7 separate regions of the Homo sapiens genome follow, and regions 2, 3, 4, 5, 6 and 7 are each linked to region 1. Evidence: promoter capture Hi-C in 16 types of primary human blood cells and fetal thymus (Javierre and others, 2016). All regions are on one chromosome and are shown on one strand. Each heading gives the region's core, a stretch centred on a gene start or on the middle of the fragment in contact. The rest is flanking DNA. Distances are from core to core; before and after follow the strand shown. Region 1 holds the start of TUBAL3 (tubulin alpha like 3). Region 2 has its middle 47 kb from the start of AKR1E2. Region 3 has its middle 24 kb from the start of AKR1E2. Region 4 has its middle 5.7 kb from the start of AKR1E2. Region 5 overlaps AKR1E2 (aldo-keto reductase family 1 member E2). Region 6 has its middle 31 kb from the start of AKR1E2. Region 7 has its middle 47 kb from the start of AKR1E2.

Region 1 (3,320 bases), core at 426-2,925:
GAAAGCACTTCATTTAGGACAAACTAATATTCCACCTCTCAAGACAGCATATTCTGTTATAAACAGGCTTCGAATACCCCTTATCAGGCTTCAGATAACCTTAATCTTATTCCTCTCCCCTTCTGTCGGACTTAAAGTGCTGCAAATACATCAGCTGCTGTAATCTGATCAAAACTTGGCTCCTTAAATTTAAGTTAACATTTTAAAAGGAGAGGGTGAACGTTCATTGTTTCTACATCATTAAAACCTCTTACTTTGTAAAGTTTACATGTAGATTTCTCTGTCTTCTCCACTGGCTACCACCCAGTCCTGTGTTACAGTGACGAGTAAAATTCAGGTGTACATGTGGTATTTGTTCATAATAGTCACAGTAAAAATAATCACTAACATTAAAAAAAAAAAAGATTGTTCCTCTTCACGTGGTCTGTTCAAGTGACTCAGAAAGCAGAGTGATGCTGTTCTTTTTGAAATCAGCACGAATAGCCTGGACTAACAAGCATCCTTCGTCTTTGAAGGAGCTTAGCTTATAACATAACTCTGTCCAAGGGTGTAGAAGACTATCTTTGCCTTATTCTTCTCTTAGCCTCTCCCTTTTTTTCCAAATTCTCTATGAAAATATTAGTCACACTATAAAGTAGAAGACTATAAAATGTCCACTGAACGTCAACACTGATAAGTCATAGCACATTATTAAACGCTGCTATAAGGATTATTTGAATTACTAGAAAAGCATAACTCTCAGTTAAACTTTCAATTTTGAGGTCTTTGTAGATTGATATGCAGCTGTGAGAAATAACATAGGAAGATCCCTTGCATCCGTTACCCATTTCCCGCAGTGGAAACATCTTGCAAGACCATAATACAAAATCACACCCAGAATGTTGACAGTGATAAGATACAGAACATGCTATTATCACAAGTCTCTCTCATGTTGAAAGGCATAATTTTTAAAAGCAAAACAATTTAAAATTTTTTAAATGTTGGACAGAGAGACCAATGGGGTGAGAAATCAAAGATCAAGAAGCAGTTCGAAATGTTGCTTCCATTGAAGAATTAAAAATTCAAAGATACTGAAAAACTGGCACAGAAAAAAATAAAGGGCAAATGGATCTGAAAAGGTCATCCCAAAACAGAATTATTGTAAGTTATTCTATTCATTGTGGTGCCCAAAGAACTAAACTCAAGGGAGGGCAAAGAAGATGTCTGCGCACTTTACCCTGCCAGGCATTTATGAGGTTAGCCACGGTTACCTAAGTCTGAAGTCCTCAGAAACTCTTAACAGCCTAACGAAAAGTGAAGCAATGAATATCTACAGAAAAATCAGCACTCTGGGCCTAAAACAAAGGTGAAAACTAAAGGAAGGAAAGGTTTTTGCTTCAGTGCTTCAATTAATGGCAGTGAGCTACTGCAAATCAACTGAGCTTTACCTTGAAAGAAGCAACATTACAGAGGAATAGATTACAGCCTGTCCACATCTGCTCCCAACTCATCTACTTGGACATTGAAAGAAACAAATGTTTCTTTACAAATGTCTTCTCTTGCATTACAATTTTATTAAGAATTGTTTGCTGTGGGAAAAGGGCCAAATATGATTAGTAAAATTTCCTACAACAATGCATAGGCGTGTAGTCACTTACCATGCTGATGAGAACGTGCCCTTCCTGCCCTGTAGTAATGACTGAGGAGCCTCCCAGCTGAGCTTTATCACAGGGCCCGGAAATGACTCCACCTGAGGGCTGGAGCTTTCTTCACTTAAAGCAGTATAGCTTCTTTTTAGTTTTTTTAGTTATCTGGTCTCAGAGTAGCTGTGTTGGGCCTGAACAACCCGGGATAAAGTTTGTACACAGCTGCAGATGAACTACTGAGAGCTTATCCAAATCTGCGTCCAACTTATAACTATGTTGAAAAGAACATGTGTCTTTTAAAAATCACCCTTTTGGGTTAAGAATTTATTTAGCATTGGCAGAGAAAAGGAAGGAGTATGAGTAAAATTTTCTGCAACAGCAAAGTAGCTTTTTCTATTGCATGAGTACTATGTGAATATCTTCTTAAATAAATTTAAACAATCCCTGAATACATACAGCAAACCAAGACAGTGTCCTTTTTACATCTGTGTCCTATGCATGCCTCTCAACCACTACCACATCCAAACATATGGGAATTTTCTGTTTTTATTATTATTGTCTTTTGAACTTTTATATTATTATACATAATATATACTTATGTTATTATTTTTTATTAATTGCACTAAGATCAGATCACACATCTTAACTGAGTTCTCTCCTTATATATTTGCTAAAGCTTCCTTTATATTCTACTATATGGTCAATTTTTGAAAATATTCCATGAGTGTTGAAAAGAATGTGCATTCTACATTTGTTGGATGCAATATTTTAGATAGACCGATCATTCAATCAATCAATCTATTAAATCAAATGGATTTATTGTGTAGTCCAAATTTTACGTATCAATTATTTCAAAAGATGTATTAAAAGTTTTCATTATAATTGTGAATTTACCCATTATTTCTTTTTCTGTCAATTTTTCCTTTATACATTTTGAGGCCATGTTATGAAGAGCACATAAATTTTAAATTATTATATTTTCAAAAACTTTAACAATTTTTTATTTTTAAATTACCCTCCTTATATACATTAATTATTTTTACCTTAAAGTTTTTTTTTTTTTTTTTTTGAGATGCAGTCTTGCTCTGTCGTCCAGGTTGGAGTGCAATGGTGCGATCTCAACTCACTGCAACCTCCACCTCCCAGGTTCAAGCGATTCTTCTGCCTCAGCCTCTCAAGTAGCTGGGATTACAGGTGTGTGCCACTATTCCTAGCTAATTTTTTTGTATTTTTGATAGAGACAGGGTTTCACCATGTTGGCCAGGCTGGTCTTGATCTCCTGACCTCGTGATCTGCCCGCCTTGGCCTACCTTAAAGTTTTTATGATCAAATATTAATATTACTACTTTAATACAGTTTTTTGGTTCACATTTGAATGATGTATTTTCCCATCGTTTTACATTCTTAGAAACTTAAAACCTTTCCATATTCTCATATTTTGGATGTGTTCTTTGTATGCATGATATAACTGAATTTTTTTTCTATTTTTGTATTTGAATTGGAGAATTCAGCTCATTACATTTAATATAATAACTAATATAGTTGGGTTTAGATATAGAGTACTATTTTATTTTGTGCTTTCTGTTTGTCTCCATTTTCTAAGTTCTCTTTTCTTCCTGATCTTCTTTTGAATTAATGACATGTTTTGTTAGCATAGTAACAATTTTATTATTCAGTAATCAAAACAAAATTTCT
Region 2 (3,320 bases), core at 475-2,974, 630 kb before region 1:
AGGATGGTCTCGATCTCCTGACTTCATGATCCGCCCGCCTCGGCCTCCCAAAGTGCTGGGGTTACAGGCCTGGGCCACCGCGTCCAGCCATGACTTCCCTTTCTAAGAATACAGAGTGGAAAAGTGGACAAAATCGGACACTTTGTCATGGAAACCCCTGAAAAACCCTACCTTACCAGGTGTTCAAAGCTAACATCAACAGTGATATGTTAGCAATAACAGCAAATAGCCAGTACTGATGTGATAGAAATGGCATTTTACCTCTGTAATCTTATTCCCAACAATCACAACCTCAGTCTAATAATGAGAAAAAAGAAAACAACAGACAAATTCAAGTTTAGGCATATTTTGAAAAACATCTAACCAGTACTCCTTGAAACCGTCAAAAAAGGTCATTAGAAACAAAATCTGAGAAGCTGTCATAGCCAGAAGCCTAAAAAGACATAATAACTGTAACTAACATGGTGTCCTGGGTGGGGTAGGATCCTGGGACAGAAAAATTAAATAAATACATAGGTAAAAAACAAGAAAATCTAAATACATTAGGGGCTTTAGGGAATAATATGTTGATATTGCTTTATTAATTGTGACACATGCACCATACTAAGATCAGATGCTAATGACAGAAGGAGGAAACAGTGGGGGATGTGTGGAAACCCTCTAATTGTTACAATTTTTCTATAAACCTAAAGCCACTCTAAAATAAAAAGTTTATTTTAAAATACGTAATGCCCGTAATTTTTAAATGTGTAAAAATTTAATTTGTTTTAGGTGATAGTCATTTGACACTTAATATATGAAAATATTTTGCAATAAAAACAGTTATGTCACATTAAAAGTCACTGATTCATAGTTTTCTAATGAAAGAGTAGCATATTACTGTTGTTAGGAATCTTTTGTTTGAGTCCTATCACTTTGTATTGTCACACTAGGCAAAAATATCATAATCCAAGTATATATTTCTAAAATTAAATTCCCATAACTCAAAGGAATTTAAATTTAACAATGGGTAAATCTTCCTCGGGTCTTTCCATATGGTTTTATATGACTCATCTATAAAAGAAGCCCCTAACGGACTCCTGTTCCTTATATTCGGCTTTTCTAGAACCGGCAGCAGTCTTGGATGTCACAGTGTACCTCGGCTCTGCATTCTACAAAAAAGGATAATAGAATTGATGTGCAACAAACATTTTATTCTAATACATCTATTAAAGAGATTTGCTATGAAGCATTCAAACAATAAGTATGCAGTTTGACTGTAAGAGTTTTGCTTTTTAAACAATCATTTGAGTTTAGAATCTGGGAGAAAGGTCAGTGCATCAATAACATTGTTCTCTCTTTGGAAAAAGAGAAAAAAAAGTCCTGAGATAACATCTAAGAATTTAGTTTTCTAAATGTCTTGGCATTTGGATTGGAGTTTTAACCTGGCATAAACATTATTACAATTGAATACATACTTGTTCCAGTGAGCATCAGATTTGGTGCTTAAGTAAGAATTATTGATGATTAGTAAATTGTTAGAATTAGATGTAATATTCTAAATCTTGTTTTAAATCCACTTTGAGAAATATAAAATGCCATACCCTTTTCCAGCCAACAAATCAAATAAAAAAGTAATAATCATTTTAAAATTATGCTTTTCTTCTTAATTTATATTTTGCCATTTTTCTCACTTTTCTTTTAAAAAAACAACTAAACTAATATGTCTCATTAGGAATCCCTTGAGTCAAATCTCATATGAGATTAAGCCAATGTTGAGAATTCCAAGAAAGAGAATTCAAAGGTAGGCAGAAAAAGGTATTTGAAGTTAGCCGGCTAATTTGCCATATGTAGAAAAACTATAACTACCTGCTTAGATACACCTTTTTCTAAAATTGGATTTATATCTTCAACAAAATAAAATATTCTATTTACATGTGCGTTATGCTGTGCCTTGCTTGTCAAAATGTTTCCCATGGATCAGGCACATCAGCATCACAGGTAGCTGGTTAGAAATGCACTCTTGTCTCCACCTGAGATCTACTGAGTAAGAATCTACACTTAGCAAGATTTCCGGGTGGTGTGTGTGCATATGAAAGTTTGAGAAGCACTGTTCCATACAGCCACTGTTATTTGAAACAATATTTTTACCAGTACGTGCTATATAAAATTCAAGCTAAAGTTTAATTTGCTGTTACTGCTTTTGTTATTTATTCATTTCATCTCCTTTTCCAAAATTTTCTCCTCCCTAGCACTGCGGCAATCTGCCTCTGTAATTGGTCTCTGACATCTCCGTTACATCATGGCCCCAAAGAAGCCACCGTTCTTGAGGAAGCATGGGAGGTAGAAAATTATACCATTAATTTTTGCATTATTTAAGTAAGTAGTTAACAAATGACATACATATAATTTTTAAAAACAAACCACTATCCAATAACTCTATCAAGATTTCCAAAACAATTATTTCGAAGGTTAAGTTAAAGGCATTTGCATACACAGAATTTGAAGCCACCAGATAAAAAGATCTAGAAGATGTTCTCAAAAGTTTACAATATCTGAAATGCAAAGCAAGAATTTGTATTTTGACATTGGGCTCTAATGAAAGAGATTGTGCATGTATATATGCATGCGTATTTTAAAAACCCTTATTAAGATTTTAATTTGCCATCAAGGGCAACTTGTCATACGAAGATGAAACTATTTTATGATTCATTAGCCAAGTGTGACTGAGACAGCTGAGATTAATTTAATCTTGGCTTTTATGCATTAGTATTCAAAAGGAATCTGAAGCAGAGAGCAGCACTTGGTTTTATTTTTATAATGAAGGAAATATTTTGCAGCTTCTCTGTTTTGATGATCACAATGAGCTGGTGGATTAAATGATTCTATAGTTTAACACAAATATGGATTAAGAATGAAAGCTATTTCCATGATGTCTTGCTGTCCTTTAGACACATGCTTGAATGACACTGTTATGAGAAGCAGAAGCTGTAACATTTACTCTGGAAAACAAATGTTTACCTCAAGCAGCAACTGACATTTCTAGCTTCTTGCATGAATATCAGGCACTGCTTCAAATCACTTACCAGCCTCAGTCCTTGTATCTTGGTCTTGGGCCTCAGGCCAGTATTAGGTGAGGGGACCTGACCTGACTGAAACCAGGATGCCTTAAGCACACCAACAAGGGGCTCTCCCAAGTCTACATCCTCAACACCTGAGCCCTGATTAAGCACATCGTCACGATGATACACTGCGGTTGCCATTACTATTGATGGCATGTCTATAGAGACCTCTGGCTAAAAAAGACCCTAGGTCTTCCTGTCAGCGGTACTTCTTTCCTC
Region 3 (3,320 bases), core at 559-3,058, 600 kb before region 1:
GCTTAAATAAAGCACACATTTTTGCATAGTTTTAATATACACTAAATTTTATAGAAATTCAATTAATGTTTAAATTGAGAGAAGATGGTAGTTTAAGTTCAGAAATGTACCCTAAACTCTCCATATTTCAGGAAAATCATCACAAAGAGCATTGCTCTTATGGCATTTAAGCATCCGATACAACTCACCTATATCAAATTGCTCCGTATTTGAATGTAACTGTCACCTTCACAGTGATTTTACACATAATGGATGTGCAGTTGGGTGTGTCTTAGTATTTAAATACTAAAATCATATCATTTTATCTTAAATTATCTTCCTTTTGTTTCTCCTTTACATTACAGTCAGGGCAGTATGTTGACTTTCAAACATTGTTTGTGTGGTTATATAACATTATCAGATTTTCTATCAGATCATGAAGCGGGGGTGTTGGGCACCCTTGCATTGAAAGCTCTGTTCTGATTTCACAACTCCTGGATCCACTCTCCAAGCCCAAACCCCTTCCTGAGAAACATTCTAGGTATAACTGATGAACCTGAGATGTCATGAGAGCAGGGCAAGGCCAACAGGATGCTCTCTTCCTGGAATGTGGATTTGGATTTCAAACTCTAACGAGTGTCTGTAAGCCGCTTAACTGGTGTCCTGCAGGCAGGGCTGAGGAGAGTTTGGGTTGTTTTGACTCATGCACACCCAAAATCAGAACATGTTTGTTTGCAAGGAGAGAAAAGAACAAAGCAGAAGAGAGACACAGAGATGAGAGGTTTGTCACCTTGGGTCACAGCGAGCCTGTGGCATGGTTCCCTGGGAGGCCCTGCTGCCCCTCTGCCTTCCCTTAGGTGCCTCAGATCTGTACCACAGCCCTTGGTGCTGCATTCTGCCAGCTCAGAGGGGTTTTGTTAATTGCAACCAAAAAGACTTGCTTAAGTATTTTAATTTCCACTTCCTAGTGGTTTTAATTAATAGTTGTTAGATGAATTAATGTAAAAACAAATGAATAAAGTAACCGCTTTAGATGAATTTTAAAAATTTTATTAAAAACATGAATATTATTTCTTCAACTAATTATCTACATCAGTGTTTTTTATGATTTCTCTCCAATTCCACTCTTTCCCCCACCAAAAAAGAGACAGTTGTCTTTCAGACACTCTTAGGATTACCTCATCCAAAATATTTGTTTTAAATGAAAAGACTTGATTTGTGAGGGGGATGTGTATATATGTGTGTGTGTGTGTGTGTGTGTGTGTGTGTATGTAGCAGAAAAAGAGGGGAGGATAAGGTCCTTTTCTATGCAACTCTCTGAGCAAAAACAATGCAGTCCTTTAAAAAATTGTTATCTTCTAATGTTAAAATAGCTAATTCTTATTTAAAGATTTAGTTGTAAGTCTTAAAGAAAATGTTAGTCTTTTAAAGATACAAGAAGTGTTAAGGGCTTCTCCACTTTTATTGGGCTGTTGGATTGGGTATTAAAATTGAGAAATATGCCTTATAAAGTTGTTTTTAATTGTAAATAAGTTCATGCATTGTTAAATTCAATTCTTGAAATATTCTGTTTCTAAGCAAATACACAACAGTACATAGCCAGTTTGCTATAGTTTCATGTTTTAAATTTTGTGTACATTTCATGTCACATGTTTCTTAATTTTTAGATGTTTACATATCTGAGCCTATGTTATCCTTGTACAAGTTTGATGGGAAAGCAACCAACACACTGATCTTTTATTCTTATTCAATTTTTCTTTCATAGGTAATTTCTGCACTAGTTTTATTTTACCTGAATTTGATCAGATGTTTTAAATGATCCAAATTCCTAGCACTAGAAAAAATCCAGGCTTTTGTAGTTTATGTTGTTGTTGAACGAGAAGAAGACCAGACAAGTAGACACACGTTCACTAATCATAGGGGTGACTTCCTTTCCAGTGTTCAGCAAGGGATGGGGTATAAGGCAATGCCAAACTTCAACCTGCCCATCAGGTGAAAGAGTGAAGAATGTTTAATGTAGAGTTGTTCTTGAAACTAGGCCAGATGATGTCACATACTGGCTTAATTTTTTCTATTGGATGCTTAATTATTTGAGGATTCTGCAGGAAAAGTCCGGGTTGAGTTGGCTTGTTCAATACTAAAATATTTTTCTCCTGCTAAAGCACACACATTCGCTCACAGCAGTGTATATGGAACTTATAGATGTTTATTTTTACCTCTTTTTTTCTTTTCCCTTCCTTTCTTACTCTCACTACCTAAGTTCAAGGTCTGTGGACTGTGTACTTGTGGAGGAGGAGCACCAGGAAGGGGAAGGGAGGGATTCCTGCTGGCAGGAACCATGGAGAGCACATCCCTACCTAACCCTGCAGAAAAGTAGCCACAGCTCAAGGAGGTCTCTCATGTAGATCTATAGAGTAGCCCGTGCAAAATAGCATCTTTCATCACAGAGTGACTGACTTTTAACAAAGCAATAAAGCTAAGCCTCTTTGGCCCATCTACCAGAATGAGGACACTGCGTTGTTAAGAAATCACTCAATTAAAATAATATTTGTCGAAATTGTACTTGACCTGTAATCAAGAGCGACATTTGACACCTTAGTGCAGCTTCTCAAATGTTACTTATTATGACTTGGAAGGGTAACAATAAACAAAAACAACACAACAAATAAATACAACAAGAGGCAAATCACACTTCCCTTTGGTTTCAGAATCTACAATGACTGCTTGAACATTTGCCTAGTTTAGGAATATGTCTTTGTCTCAGGATTTTAGGGGTGCAGAAAGGAATGAGAGTATATGGAGCCCACCTTTTCTGAACTAGCTTTCCCAGTAGCCTGGAAACAGAAGGATTTTCTTGCTTGGTAGAGAGTATTGAACCCTGTCCTTCTGTGTGTCCAGGCCAATGTCTGTCGAGAGCTTGACTCTCTGTGCTGGAACTAACCTTGTCCATCTTCCCATAGTTCAGTATTGTCTTCCTCAAAATAAAGGAAATTATCTCCAACTTCTTGAAACATGCAGAATTTTGAAATGGTTTTCTTTATAAAAACGATAATATCAGCATATTTTCTAAACTGCTTGTTAGAGGTATAGAGTTGTGCAGCTTAGATTTGGCTGTTGTGTCAGACCTCTGTGTTCCAGTCCTCCTGTGGAGTGGACCTGTGACATCAGAACACACAGAGGTGGGGACTGGAATATCTCAGAGTTTCCCCAGGGGCTCCAAAGGGCTGGAAGTGTGGGTCCCACCTCCTTCCATGAGGGGCAGAAGAAATGTGTTGAAAACCAGCGATGGACAGGTGATGCATCAGGCTCTCAAGTCTCATTTCTAGATTCCATCATCCACA
Region 4 (3,320 bases), core at 614-3,113, 580 kb before region 1:
TTTAGAATAAAAACCTACAGGAAATTATCTTATAGTTCTAAAATATGGGCTACCTTTCCAACTTAAAAAAAAAAAGCACAGTGGTAGTAAAGAGAAGTAGAGAGGAAATGGGGAGTTTTCCATACTGAAGAATATCTGCAATGAAGACCTGGGTACATTTTTTTAAATTACAAAACTAAAAAAATAAAGGCATCTAATATATAATTCAGTGTGGGAAAATAAAAACAAATTGCTAGTTTAACTTACCAATACTGTGAGCAATTTAAAATTGTTAGATTCCACCAAATAATTGTTAAATGAGATAAGCCAGGTAAATGTCCTAGCACAATACCTGAAGTACGGTATTCTCAATAAATTTCAGTTATTGTCATTTCAGTAGTTACAATTATTTTCAAAAGTTGTTTAATCTTTTTTTCTTTCAATCCATGTTAATTCTAACTGACTCAGCTTAAAAGGAAACTACTTCAAGATTGAATTTGAACTAGAAATGGGATCCCCTTGTAGTGATGTTTGAGAGAGCAGGGATTACTCTCCTTAAGGCTTCTATTTAACTAAAATTTTATTGGAACTGGATAACATGTGGAGGTCGGTCATAATCAATCACTGATAGACATAAATCTGCAAAGAATTCACTTGAGGGGGAGATGAGTGTCTTCCACCCCATTCAAGGTTGCCATTTTCCACAAAGTTCAGGCAGTGGAGTGAAATGCCACAATAATACTCTATTAAATCAACACATTGGTAATGTGATGGCAACACCTGTAGCCATTTCAGATACAGGCAGAAGCTCGCAGTTATTAAAGCCACATGGAGAGGGTACAGCAGGAAATGAAGAAAGAGGGAAGAAGGAGAAGCAGAGAGAGGAGAGATGCATAATTTAATACCTCCAGAAGCAACCTTGCTACAGACCATCGTCTGTTTCTATTTTTTTTCTCTGTGTCACACAGTGCTATAATGCAGAGGAACCACTGCTTTGAAGGGTATATGCCTGCACAGTCTGAGATTGACAAGTCGCTGTCCCCCGTGTGTCCCCATCGATGAGAACCACATTTATGGTTCTTGTGGTTGCTTGGACAGTCTTTATTTTCATCATGAGACAAAGATAAGGCAGACATTTCTGGTGAAAGTCTAACAGTTAAGTTGTGGTAAAAGATAGGATAGTTGGCGTTGGGCAACTTCAGTGAAAAAGAGCTCCTTATAATATCATAATCTTGTCCTCAGAAACTCGTGGACTATTATTTGTGGCTGCCTTTTCATCCTTTACTTTAGCAACTTACCGGTTGCTTTCTGTGTATGTGGGGCCAGTTTATGTGAGATTTGAAGAAGGGATTTTCCTTTATTGGGAATGTCTAATGAGCACTTACAAGCAGAATTTCCTCCCGATTTTTTTCCTCTGCACTCTGAATACTGGAAAGTGTTTTGAGGGCCTTCTGACAGTACACCACAGTGATTTTTTTTTCTGTCGTAATCCATTTATGACTAAAAAACATGATGCTTTTTGTTTTTGAGATAGAGTCTCGCTCTGTCACCCAGGGCAGAGTGCAGTGGCACAGTCTTGGCTCACTGCAACCTCTGCCTCCCAGGTTCAAGCGATTCTCCTGCCTCAGCCTCCTGAGTAGCTGAGATTACAGGCATGCGCCACCACGCCTGGCTAATTTTTGTATTTTTAGTAGAGACAAGGTTTCACCATGTTGGTTAGGCTGGTCTCGAACTCCTGACCTTGTGATCCACCCGCCTCAGCCTTCCAAAGTGCTGGGATTACAGGCATGAGCCAACGCATCTGGCCACATGATGCTTTTTTTTTGGTTGCTCACATGACAAGCTATTATTTTTGTGTCACTTTAAACAGAACTTAAGGTATAGACTTCATGCATTCCTTCTTGAGCCCTCTTCCATTACAGCAGTTAAATTTTGTCCAGATTCTGTAAACTAGTATTGCTGCCTGAGTGGCCGTGGTATTTCCTTTGAGCTGAACTTGGCCATTTTAGCTTCTTATTAGACAAAACAGTATACTTGGAGTCCTGGTGAATAACCAGACAAATGGAATTTCTTGTCCACAAAGCTCTAGCACAGTGGTTCGGCGCAGAGGCCCATGCTTCCCTACTTGATCTTGTCGTCACTGGCTCAGCCAAATGCTATTTCTCAAAGTTCATAAATCTCACATCCTCTTTGTGGAGTCTTTCCCCTTTTTGTACATGTATAATCCCCGGCCTCTAAGTAGTCTATTCACTTCTAAAGCTGTTGACTTGGCAAGATAACAACTGCATCATTCACACAAGCAAATCTGCTCTTGGAGGACAAAAAGAGGTTTATTTTGGCTTAGATGACTCCGATTGGCCATCTCCATTGAAACCTTGGCAGAAGATAGGTCCCTTGGCTACTGGGGAGAAAAGTCAAGTAAACCTTTAGTGCCAGGAATGGTGTTTGTAAAGATTCGGCATGAAGTGGTACATTTCGTCCTTGGGCTTCTTACTGGCTTCAACCCAAACAGAATCACTTAGTGCTGTTCCCCGGGTTAATGATGTTATTAGAACAATTGACTCAAAGCAAGAACTGAAAGGCTGAGTGCTTTGTTGTGAGGTGTGCAAAAATTCAAGTCTATCAAAACAGGCTTAGCAGAGCTGCCACCAGCAGGACAGCGTTTAGCTTTTGTTTGCTGCTTCTTTGATTCTTCATGGGCAGCTGGCATTTCTGTTGCTGGTTTCTACTCTCTCATCCCTAGTGGACCCTACGTTTTCTCCCCTGAGTGTGCTTATCTGTCCAGCTGCAAAAAAAAAAAACAAAAGGTGTGCTGTTGTTTCTGCACTTCTCCCTGTCCTCATCTCTCAACATCATATGTGTGCAGAGAAATCACACTTGTTGCTCTGTTGTCTCAAAAGGTCTAGCCCTGAGTTTGCTGAGGTGATGATGAAGGTTGTGTGAAGCTGTGTCAAACACTGAGAAACATACACACAGGCTGTAGCAGATGTGTGTTATTCCCTCAATGCATGCACCAGTGATGGGGATTTAGAATGAGCCACTGTGCAAAGATGCCCCAGAGAGACTATTCCCTATACATTATTATTCAGTGTAAGATACCCAATAAAGCAACTAGATAAAGAAATGCCTATATCTAAACCTAAAATATTCACTCACTCCCAGCGTTAACTTCCCTCATCCTTAAGAACAGGCTATCCATGGAGCTACCAAAATGCACTTTTAAAAAGTGTGTTCATGCTGCACTTCATATTCATGCTCCCTTTTCCCTTGACAATGTGTTATATGTTGAGAATCTTTAAATAAAACTGCTCAACCACCAAAAAATTATTTCTCCCCATTTC
Region 5 (3,320 bases), core at 272-2,771, 570 kb before region 1:
AGAATGGGTGAAGCACAAAACAGGCCTGTTCTCCTCTGGCAGCACTCAGAATGGTGATTAAAGGCAGCAGCTAGGCAAGTGGCTTTCTTGAAGGTGCATCTGGGTAGATGGTACTGTTGGCAGGCAGGGCATGAGCTGGTGCTTGGCCCTCCATGTGCAGTGCAGGCAGGTCACCAGGTGTACTCAGAAGCAGTCAGGGTCCTGGCAGGTGCCTCACCCTTATCCAGGAACATGGGCCTCCCCTCTACCTCTTCCCAGCCTGCAGACTGCAGCAAGAAAGAGTGGATGACTAGATGGCTTCACGCGAGGCTCACAGGCTGCTGAAGGTGATGCAGGCACTTCGTTTTTTTAATGCAGAGAAAAGACTTGTGGGGAAATAACTATTGTATTTTCTAGACTAGCTTTGTATGTTCAAAGATCATTTATACAGTACTTAAGCTTTTTATTGAAGAGTAGAAGTGCACATGTGAAAATGGAACTGTATAAATTCTCATAAACTGAGCATAGCTCTGGGACTAGCATCCAGCTCAGTAAACAGCACGTCCAGTGCCCCTGTAACCCCTGCCGAGCACAGCATCATTCCCATTCCCAGCAGCTGGGATTCACGTCTGAACTTTACACAGGTAAAATAAAATAATAATGCAACATAAACCCCTCTGTGCTCGCCTCTTTCACACAGCACTGTGTTTCTGTACATGTGATTGTAGATAGTGCTCTCTTATTTCTTGTGGTATTCTGTTTTGTGAATTAACCACAATTGAGTTATCCATTCTGCTGTTAATGGGCACTTAGACAGTTTCCAGTTTGGGACTATTAAGAATAGAGCATCATGTTCTATTTTTTTGAATAAATATGCTTTTTAAAAAAGTTCTGTATGGAGTAGATGCAGAAAAGTGTGTGAATCATAAAAGGCATACATAGCTTGATGAATTTTTGCAAGTGAACAAACTCAAGTATTCAGCACCCAGAACAAGAAAAAAGCCCTCAGCCATTCAGTAGCTCCCCTGGGTCCTGTTGTAGCCACCACCATGAAGAGCAACCTGGCTTCTGACCCAGCTTCTCATGTAGTTCAGCTTTGCCTTGTATACAACCCTATATATATAAGTTTTGATATATGTTTATATGGATAGTAGCTTCCGTTTTGTGTCAGTATTTTTAGTTGTTCAGCACTTTAAATACCTGGGAATGATTATGGCATAGTCTGAGTAGACAAAGTGGGGTGGAGGGTCTGCTTTCTGTTAGGTTGATGGACACCAGGAACACAGGATGCGGAAGGCTCCAGAAGGGCTGGCCTCTCTTTTGGAGGCTTTCCAAACAGGCTGATCTTGATGAGCTTGGCATGTTCCTGAGAGCAAACGCACTATTCATAGTTCTCTGTAATTTACACTAAATAACTATTTATTTTAAATCTCCTTATAACCTGGAATTATATGTGAGAGTTTGGAGAATGTGCAAGAGACAGAGATCCTGCTCTCTAGCTTCTTAAAATTTTCATTCAAGTCACCTGTAGAATGTATTTGTCACATGTAGTTCCTCAATTTCATTCATTCATTCAGTGGATATATTTTTAGCACTTCCTACATGTCTAGATTGTTCTTAGTGTTGGTGAGACATCTATGAACAAAACAAATTCAAACAAAAATCTCTATCTTCATGAGGCTTAGATCTTGGTGACACAGAAAGACAGTGAGCAAATATGTAAAATCTATGAGATGTCAGATAGTGATAGATGCTGTAGAGGAAAATAAAGGCCGGGGGAGATGAGAGCTATGGTGTGTTAACAATCTTTATCTGAGTGCTCAGGGAAGGCCCTGCAGAGCAGGTGGTATTGGAACATTCAGATGATGTAGGTGTCCCCAAGGCCGTGGACTCAGAGACCATGACACCTGCTGGCCTCTTGGAGATTGCTCTGTCCAGACTCCTCACAACAGAAACACTTAGGCCTGGAGCTGGGCCCCATGGCTACTCGGTGACAGCCAAGACTTTGACGCAGGTCTTCTCTTGTAGAGCTTTTCTTGAACACTAGTGGTCTGAATTTTATGTAAGCTATGATTCTGTTATAGATTGAGTGCCACCCATATCTTACTCAGAAGAATCTGATCAGTTTTTGCCAATCCAGAGATGTGTCCGTGACTGCTTACCGTCCTCTTGGTGGCTCGTGGTAAGGATACCTCAGTGGTGTGTTAGTCAGAGTCCGACTGGGAAGTAGATGCCACCTTCTCATTTCCTTGGGATGACTGAGGGAGGGCTTAATGGAGGTTTTGACAGGGTGTGGAGGGATGGTACTATAGGGGGCTGTCCACACCTCTCAAGCCTGGGATTGAAGGCATGGTTTATTATTGGAAGCCAGGGAGTGGCTGTGAGTGGGCTGCCCTGGGAGGGTCAGGACCTCTTCAGGGACGTAAATCAGCCTGGAGTGACCCCTTTGCTGAGTTCCCCACCAGGGTGTCAGCCCCCTTCTGACCTCCTGACAAGGATGCTCCCCAGGCCTCTCCATGGTTGGATGAGGCAAAGCCTGCTGTCATCTTTACCCAGGCCCTCCTGCAGCTGTACTGTGCTCCCAAGATCAGCTAAGAGACCTCCAGCCATTCAGCCACCTAAGCCAGAAGCTTGGAAATCATCCCTTCCCACATCCCGAGTCCAATCCAGCACCAAAATCTATTGATTATTCTGCCAGGAGAAGTTGGACTTTGTTTCATGATTTCATTTCTGCCATCACTGTCACTGCCTTAGTTAAGTAGCATTCCCGAGGTCATTAGAGGAGCCCCTCAGCTCCCTCCCTGGCCCACTCCATTCCAATCCATTGCTCCCAGTGGGAGCTGAAAGGAGCTGTCTCTTTCCTTTCCTATGATCCTATCACTTTCCTGGGAAAAATTCTTCAGGTCTTGGTGTGGCCTGTGAGATGCAGCCAGCCTGACCTCTGCCTGCCTCTGGCCTCATTCCTTCCCATCCCTGTGAACATCCTGGGCTTCAGCCACATGAAGCTGCTGTGGGGTCCTTGGATAGAACATGTTTTCTCACCTCTGTGCCTTTGCAAATACTGTTCTCTTTACCCACAAATCTTTTTTTTTTAAATCTGGCAAACTCCAGTTTCTAATTTAAGGTTCAGTCCAGCATCATCTTCTCCAGGAAGCCCTCCTGACCCCTTATTTATGTTTCTTACACAGCCCTTGTCACACTGTCTTGTGATTTTCTTCTCAGTCCCTTCCACTAGTCAAAGCAACCAGAGTGCAGGTATCTTATTTATTCTTCTCTTCCCAGCTTCTAGCTCAGCACCTGGGAAACATTGGGAACCCCGAAAAGGCTGAAATTACTTGAGT
Region 6 (3,320 bases), core at 604-3,103, 550 kb before region 1:
TTTGGGTGGGTCTTTCTCTGTCCTCCCTGAGCACCTTGCCTTTCCCACCCTGCCTCAGGCAGTGCTTCACCATCCCTGCAAATGGGTTGAATGAATGGTAAAAATAACTGTTTATCTTCTCTTCTTTGTAAAGTGTTGATTAATGGAAAAAAGGATTTGTGAGGCTAGTCATAAGTTGGGGCAAATCTGATGTGCTTTGTGTGTCTTTCTGTATTGTTCTGTCATAAGGAGGAGTATCTTAGAATAGAATATGGGCTTAGGACAGCTATACACCTGCTGTTCAAGATGGCCAAGCAGACGTGTCAGTTATAAACTTTGCTGCAGGTCCCAGAAAAAAACCGGATGAGGTTTCCCCCTTGTCTTGTGTGTCCTTGCGAGCTTGACCTTGTAACCATGTGGCAGTACTTTCTCTTGGTTTCTGCCATCACAATGGCAGCCCAGGTTCAGGTCCAATTCCTGGCTTAGGGAATGAGTCCTTTATCTTCTCTCTGTCTGTATTTGTATGTGTTGTGCATGTAATGTTTACATACGAAAGAGCTTTAATTTATTGGCTTAAAAAGAATAAGAGCTTAAATCAAACATTTTGTCAGAAAAATAAAAAGTGTAATGCCTTTTAGTTCATGTGACTTAAGTAATCTTTGGGAAATAAAGACAGTTTTAAAGATTATTGGTAAAATAAATACATTTGGTCTAAATTAGGCAGGTCAAATATTAGGTTTGCTAAATGCTTTAAGGGCATAAACTGCTTCTTAGACTTTTGAAAATTGTTCAATTTACCTAGTTCGGAGCATTCGATTCTAGATAAGGCCTGGGGACATGTGGAGAGCCATGCCCCCTAGCTGTGCAGGAAACAGTCAGCCCTTACCTGAACTTCTGTCTGCTGTCCTAGCCTGCACACCTAGTACAAAATTAAAATCCCAAACTTACCAAGGTTTTTCACCAAAAGTAAAAGTCGCTTAGAGTTAACAGTGTAACATATATTTGAGACTACTGGAGAAACTGTTCTACATGCAAGGTATGTAAAGAAAGTAGAATATGTTTTTGGTAAAAGACTATAAGAAGTCATGGGAATGTAGATTTTTCTGCTAAAGGGTTAAATAATTGTCTTAAGTTAGAGTAAAGCTGAAGGTTTAAGCTAGTCGTGGAAGGTTTGTGAAAAATTAATCCTGTAAAAGAAATTCTGTTTGTGAACATATTGGCTAAAGTTAAAGGGGTATTATCTAGCTTTTTGTAGACTGAATATTGGAATAAAAGCACAACAGGTTTTTCTTAGAGCAAAAACCTGCTTATGACCTGCTCTTTAACAAAAATTATAAAGGGTTATAAAAGCTTTATAAGAATCTTACCTTATGGTCAAAGTGAATACGATTGGATACATTTATCTATAAGGTTTTATTAAGAATTAGGTCTGACATCAATAATGCACTAATGCAACAGTGACAGTTGACTTATTTGGTATAAAAGTCATACAGGAAGCATTGTCAAATATGAAATGGTGTTTGATTTTCTTTCAGGTGTGTTTGTATAAATGTATTATTAGTATATGTTCCAAAATTATGGGAAACTGCTATAATTCTGATATGACTTAGTGTATGTTATTAATACACTAGTTGTTACATAAAATCATTCCATGGCACAGAGGTAACCAAATTTCTTTGTCAATTATGTTTTTGACTGTAACTGTCCTGAGACTTTTGTCATCCATGGACAATTTTTGCCTTGTTTTGGTCCTCTTTAGAAGATGGTTTATAATCAACTGTAGAACTCTACTGTTCGGTGGTATTAAGTACATTCACATTGTTGTGCAACCATCACCATCATCCACTTCCAGAGTATTTTCATCTTCTCCAGCTGAAACTCTCTACTTATTAAACAATAACTCCCCATTCCCTCCTCCTCCAACCCCTGGCAACCACAAGTCTACTTTCTTGATCTATACATTTGACTCCTCTAGGGACCTCATATAGGTAGAATCACACAATATTTGCCTTTTTATGCCTGGCTTATTTCACTTACCATATTGTTTTCAAGACTCATCCATAATTCATTAGTTCACATTGCGTGGCTGTACCAAAACATCTTATGTACCCTGATATGGTTTGGATCTGTTTCCCCACCCAAATCTCATGTTCAATTGTAATCCCCAGTGTTGGAGGTAAAACCTGGTGGGAGGTGATTGGATCATGGGGTTGGAGTTCTCATGAATGGTTTAACACCATCCCCCACTTGGTACTGTATAGTGAATGAGTTCTCATAAGATCTAGTTATCTAAAAGTGTGTAGTACCCCCCACACACACATCTTCTCTGTCTTCCTCATGCTCCAACAATGTGAAGTGCCCCTCCCTCTTTCCCATCTGCCATGATTGTAAGTTTCCTGAAGCTTCCCCAGAAGTTGAGCAGATGCCAGCATCATGCTTTCTATACAGCCTGTGGAACTGTGAGCCAGTTAAACCTCTTTTCTTTGTAAATTACCCAGTCTCAGGTATTTCTTTATAGCAATGCAAGAACAGACTAATACGTACTCCATAAATATATATACCCGCTATATGCCCACAGAAATTAAAAATAAAAATAAAAATTTTTAAAAAGATTCATCCATGATTCAGTATTGGTAGGTTATGTGTTTCTATGGATTTGTTCATTTTATCTAGGTTATCTAACTTGCTGGCATACAACTTTTTACACTACTCTCTCATACTTTTTTTTATTTAAATGAGTTTTTAAATTTCTGATTTCAGTTGAGTCTTATCATTTTTTAATTTTCTTAGTAAAGCAAGCTAAATGTTTTTCAATTTTGTTGACCTTTTTTGAAGAACCAACTCATTGTTTCATTGTTGTTTATTTCTACCTTTGTAAATATTTTCTATTTTATATATCTCTTCTCTTGTCTTTATTATTTCCTTCCTTCTGTTAGATTCGGTTTCGTTCTTTTTCTAGTTCCTTAGGATGTAAAGTTAGTTTGTTGATTTTACCATGTTAGTTTTAATATAAATATTATCTATGTTGTCAATTTCTTTCATTGACATTTCAGGAAAACGAGTCAAAATGAGTCATACTTATTCTTTGACTTTGTTTGACGTAGCTCATAGTGTTAACTACTCCAGGGAAACAAATTTGAGAAGATCAATTTTAGGCCATTTGAAAATTGGAGTCAGTAAGCATATGAGTAGATCTTACATATATGAAGAAAAAAAGGAAAGTTGGGTACTGTTTTTATATAGACCCACTCATTTATTTCTTCATTCATTCATTCATTCATTCATTGAGCCTACAGCAGGCTGAATCCTATATTCCCCATTAAAAATGAATAGATGAATTG
Region 7 (3,320 bases), core at 497-2,996, 530 kb before region 1:
GCTGAAAAGGAAAGGGAAAGTCTTAGTCATTGTTTCTGGGCTCATAAAGACAGATTTCTGTTAAACTGGTGTGAGCCTACAATTAACACAGTTTTCTTTGTGAGTTAAGTACAAACCCAACTAGTTTTATGATAATAACATACTATTGCATGATGCTGTTTTGAATACACTGTGGAAAATAAATATACCTACACACGTGGGCACACATTCACAAATATACCAGTGCATTCCATTTTTGCAATATGTCATTCTACAGCTTGAGGAGATAAACTATTTGTGTTTATATTTTGAACCTCCAGGAGGGCAGAAACAAATTCTCTCTTTTTTAAAACAATGCTTAGTCTGATTTAATATATAAAGTTAATAAATATTTTAAGGTGATAATGAGGAAGGTGATAAAATTATTACTGTTCAATGTATGTCAAACATTCAGAAATGATTTGTCTATGACTTTTCTTGGGAGAAAATTTTATATTATACCTAGAGAGAGATACAGTGGTTAGAAGATGAAGTCACTTCAATGGGGTAGTTCCATTTTAGCAAGGGGGATACAAATTCTTTCTGTATATGAAGTAATAATTTTTGACATAGAAAATGCCAAGTCATTGAATAGTTATTGTTGATTAATATTACTGATATTTATTGTTAGGGGTTCCTGCCTGCATCTCCACTCTCTGTTACCCCTACCCTGTTTCTCATTTTATTATGTTATTTATTCAACCAATATGTATTGAGTACCCAGGGAGAGACTAGTTTAAGAACAAAAACAAAACAAAAACCCTGCCCTTAGAATCTAACACTCTAATGTGGTAAAGATAAAATAAGCTAAATAAACTAGTAAAATATATGGTGTGTAAGTTAGGGATATGTGTCAAGCACAAAAATAAATCAGAATAGAGAGAAAGGCTCTTCTAGGACGAGTTGCATTTTTAGATAAGTGACAGAGAAGGCATCATCGAGTGATATATGAGTGAAGACCTGAAGGATGTAAAGGAGTGAGCAATCCTGCTCTATGGGGAAAGAGATTTCTAGGCAGGGGGAATGGCCAGTGGAAAGGCCCTAAGACAGGCCTGACATATGTCAGTGATGTGGTTTGGCTGTGTCCCCACCCAAATCTCATCTTGAATTGTAACTCCCACAATTCCCATGTGTCGTCGGAGGAACCCAGTGGGAGGTGGTTGAATTATGAGGGTGGGTTTTTCCTGCGCTGTTCTTGTGATAGTGAATGAGTCTCACGAGATCTGATGGTTTTAACAACAGGAGTTTCTCTACACAGGCTCTCTTTTTGCCTGCTGCCATCCATGTAAGACGCGACTTGTTTCTCCTTGCCTTCTGTCATGATTGTGAGGCTTCCCCAGACACTTGGAACTGTAAGTCCATTAAACCTCTCTTCTTTTGTAAATTACCCAGTCTTGAGTATGTCTTTATCAGCAGTGTGAAAATGGACTAATACAGTCAGGAACAGCATGGAGGTCACTGGTGCTCCATTGGAGTCAAGAGTGGGGAGAATAGCAGGACAGGGACACAGAGAGTTAAGGGAGGGAGTGTCTATTGGCCCTTGTAGGTCTGTGTAAGGAATTTGGTCTCAACTCTGAGTGAGATGGCAGTCTCCCACATATTGAGGAGTTCCTGTGTACACCCTTTTTAACCTGTTCACTGTGGCTACTATGCCTGGTGCTGAAGTACAGAAGAGGGAGCACTACCAGGAGCCAGTTACTTTATCATAAAGATATCGGTATGAGTGTGGGGTGTGTGTGTGTGTGTGTGTGTGTGTGTGTGTGTGTCTGTGTGTCTGTGTGTATTGGGGAAGGGATTGCAGATACCAGTATGAGCCCAGTTACAGACATGATAAGTTGGAGATGCATAGTAGATATCCAAGTAGAGGCAAGTAGACACATATACAAACCTTGCTCCAGAGCCTTGAACTGGGCTGGATATGATTTGGGGAATCTATATTTAGATGATATTTGAAGCATGAGACTAGATGAAATCAACAATGATGTTAAAGTAGATAGAGAAAGGAGAAGAGGTCTAGGTTGAGCTCTAAGTCACTCCAAAACTGAGAGGTCAAGCTAATGCAGAGAAACCAGCAAAGAACATTAGAAGAAATGGCAAGGGTTGAGGGTATTTACAAGGATGTTGGTATATTGATTGACCCCATAATTTAAGTAGGCAAAGAAGGACAGAGGGCACATTAGAGGGTCAAGTAACAGTGAAAAGGTGGTACGGTCAGTGAATTATAGCTCATGTGGTAATCAAAGGATTGTTGAAGTTGGCCATGTAGAGAAGGAGCGGGACATGTAGGAGGTGATGACTATAGTGTAAGAATTTAAAATTGACATCCAGGCATGGTTATAGTAACTCGTAATGACAAGGTCTAGAATGAGACCATTAGGTTGATAGGCTGAGTTAGACTGAAGGATAAACACATTGGAAGAGGAAAGTCACAAAACTGAAAGATCAGACTATTACAAGGACTGTCTCTGTAGTGTTGAAATCAAAAGAAATTATGGCAGGTCTACTGTTGGAGAGGATGAAAACTAGGAACTAAAATCTTCGGTGGATGAGAGAAGACCTGGGAATGCAGCCCTGATGACTGCAAAGGACAGGGGTAGTGCTGGGTTTGTCTGATGACACAAAGTCCAGAGCTGAATGCTTTTAGAAAGAGAGTTCCTACTCAATATTCAGGCTTAGCACTACTAAGGTCTTGGGAAGGATAACAGCCCCAACTGGAGAGGGCTGACAGGAATCAGTGCTACCAAGAGAAATGGGGTTTCAGCTATTGGGAAAAGGTGAAAAGAACATTTAGAGAAGACAACAAAGATAAAACGGTTTTGCCAGTGGTTGAGTAGGAGTTTCAGAAAGCACAGTGAAAACATGTTGAGGTGGTGTACACAGAGCTATTTGGGAACCAGGAATTTTAGGCTCCTGTAGTGACTGAACTAACAGTGACAAAGACCATGTTAGCCTCAAGGGAGTTAAGGGGCTGGTTGGCAGGGGAGGATGGGAGTCTGTCCAGGAGCTACTGGATTGCTTGCTCTTCCCGTGTTTGGAGATGTTTACATACATATATGTACTAAATGTCACTGAACAGAAAAAAAAATAGCTTACAGATTTTTCTCTACAGCCTTCTGAGAATCATAGAGTCTAAAAGTTTGAAGGGCCATTAAAAGTCTATCTTTGGAAATAACTTTTTTCCTGCCATTGGATTTTCATTATCACCTCCATTTGCTTGATACTCAGCCTGTTCCCTTTTTCCTTCTTGATTTTCCGAACCTGCTTACTCTTTACTATTGAAAACCCCCCCAGACCTGAGCAAA

What was found. Contacts are between HindIII fragments. The CHiCAGO score rates a contact against its expected background, and 5 or more counts as called.
Region 2: a fragment that was not itself captured here is called in contact with the fragment with the promoter of TUBAL3 in region 1 in 1 of 17 cell types (monocytes); the score reaches 5.1 in monocytes.
Region 3: a fragment that was not itself captured here is called in contact with the fragment with the promoter of TUBAL3 in region 1 in 8 of 17 cell types (erythroblasts, megakaryocytes, total CD4 T cells and 5 more); the score reaches 12.0 in erythroblasts.
Region 4: a fragment that was not itself captured here is called in contact with the fragment with the promoter of TUBAL3 in region 1 in 10 of 17 cell types (erythroblasts, megakaryocytes, total CD4 T cells and 7 more); the score reaches 9.2 in erythroblasts.
Region 5: a fragment that was not itself captured here is called in contact with the fragment with the promoter of TUBAL3 in region 1 in 15 of 17 cell types (M0 macrophages, M1 macrophages, total CD8 T cells and 12 more); the score reaches 13.6 in M0 macrophages.
Region 6: a contact is called between a fragment that was not itself captured here and the fragment with the promoter of TUBAL3 in region 1, in 14 of 17 cell types (M0 macrophages, total CD8 T cells, M1 macrophages and 11 more). The highest score is 18.9, in M0 macrophages.
Region 7: a fragment that was not itself captured here is called in contact with the fragment with the promoter of TUBAL3 in region 1 in 10 of 17 cell types (non-activated CD4 T cells, M2 macrophages, monocytes and 7 more); the score reaches 11.9 in non-activated CD4 T cells.

Annotation. Positions count from the first base shown.
Region 1 is chr10:5,403,153-5,406,472 of GRCh38, forward strand. TUBAL3 (tubulin alpha like 3) reads right to left here and starts at 1,676. Exons shown (of 4, transcript NM_024803.3): 1 at 1,638-1,676. The coding sequence starts at 1,640. The HindIII fragment of the contact is 4,190 bases long and covers 1-2,299 here.
Region 2 is chr10:4,777,574-4,780,893 of GRCh38, forward strand. No RefSeq gene overlaps it. Among named protein-coding and RNA genes, the nearest start is that of AKR1E2, 47 kb to the right of the region's middle. The HindIII fragment of the contact is 5,828 bases long and covers 1-3,320 here.
Region 3 is chr10:4,800,983-4,804,302 of GRCh38, forward strand. No RefSeq gene overlaps it. Among named protein-coding and RNA genes, the nearest start is that of AKR1E2, 24 kb to the right of the region's middle. The HindIII fragment of the contact is 3,618 bases long and covers 1-3,320 here.
Region 4 is chr10:4,818,822-4,822,141 of GRCh38, forward strand. No RefSeq gene overlaps it. Among named protein-coding and RNA genes, the nearest start is that of AKR1E2, 5.7 kb to the right of the region's middle. The HindIII fragment of the contact is 5,131 bases long and covers 1-3,320 here.
Region 5 is chr10:4,837,666-4,840,985 of GRCh38, forward strand. AKR1E2 (aldo-keto reductase family 1 member E2) reads left to right here. Exons shown (of 10, transcript NM_001040177.3): 6 at 2,064-2,161. Among named protein-coding and RNA genes, the nearest start is that of AKR1E2, 13 kb to the left of the region's middle. The HindIII fragment of the contact is 2,171 bases long and covers 437-2,607 here.
Region 6 is chr10:4,855,115-4,858,434 of GRCh38, forward strand. It overlaps a transcript of AKR1E2 not described here. Among named protein-coding and RNA genes, the nearest start is that of AKR1E2, 31 kb to the left of the region's middle. The HindIII fragment of the contact is 1,052 bases long and covers 1,328-2,379 here.
Region 7 is chr10:4,871,938-4,875,257 of GRCh38, forward strand. It overlaps a transcript of AKR1E2 not described here and the pseudogene AKR1C6P. Among named protein-coding and RNA genes, the nearest start is that of AKR1E2, 47 kb to the left of the region's middle. The HindIII fragment of the contact is 5,702 bases long and covers 1-3,320 here.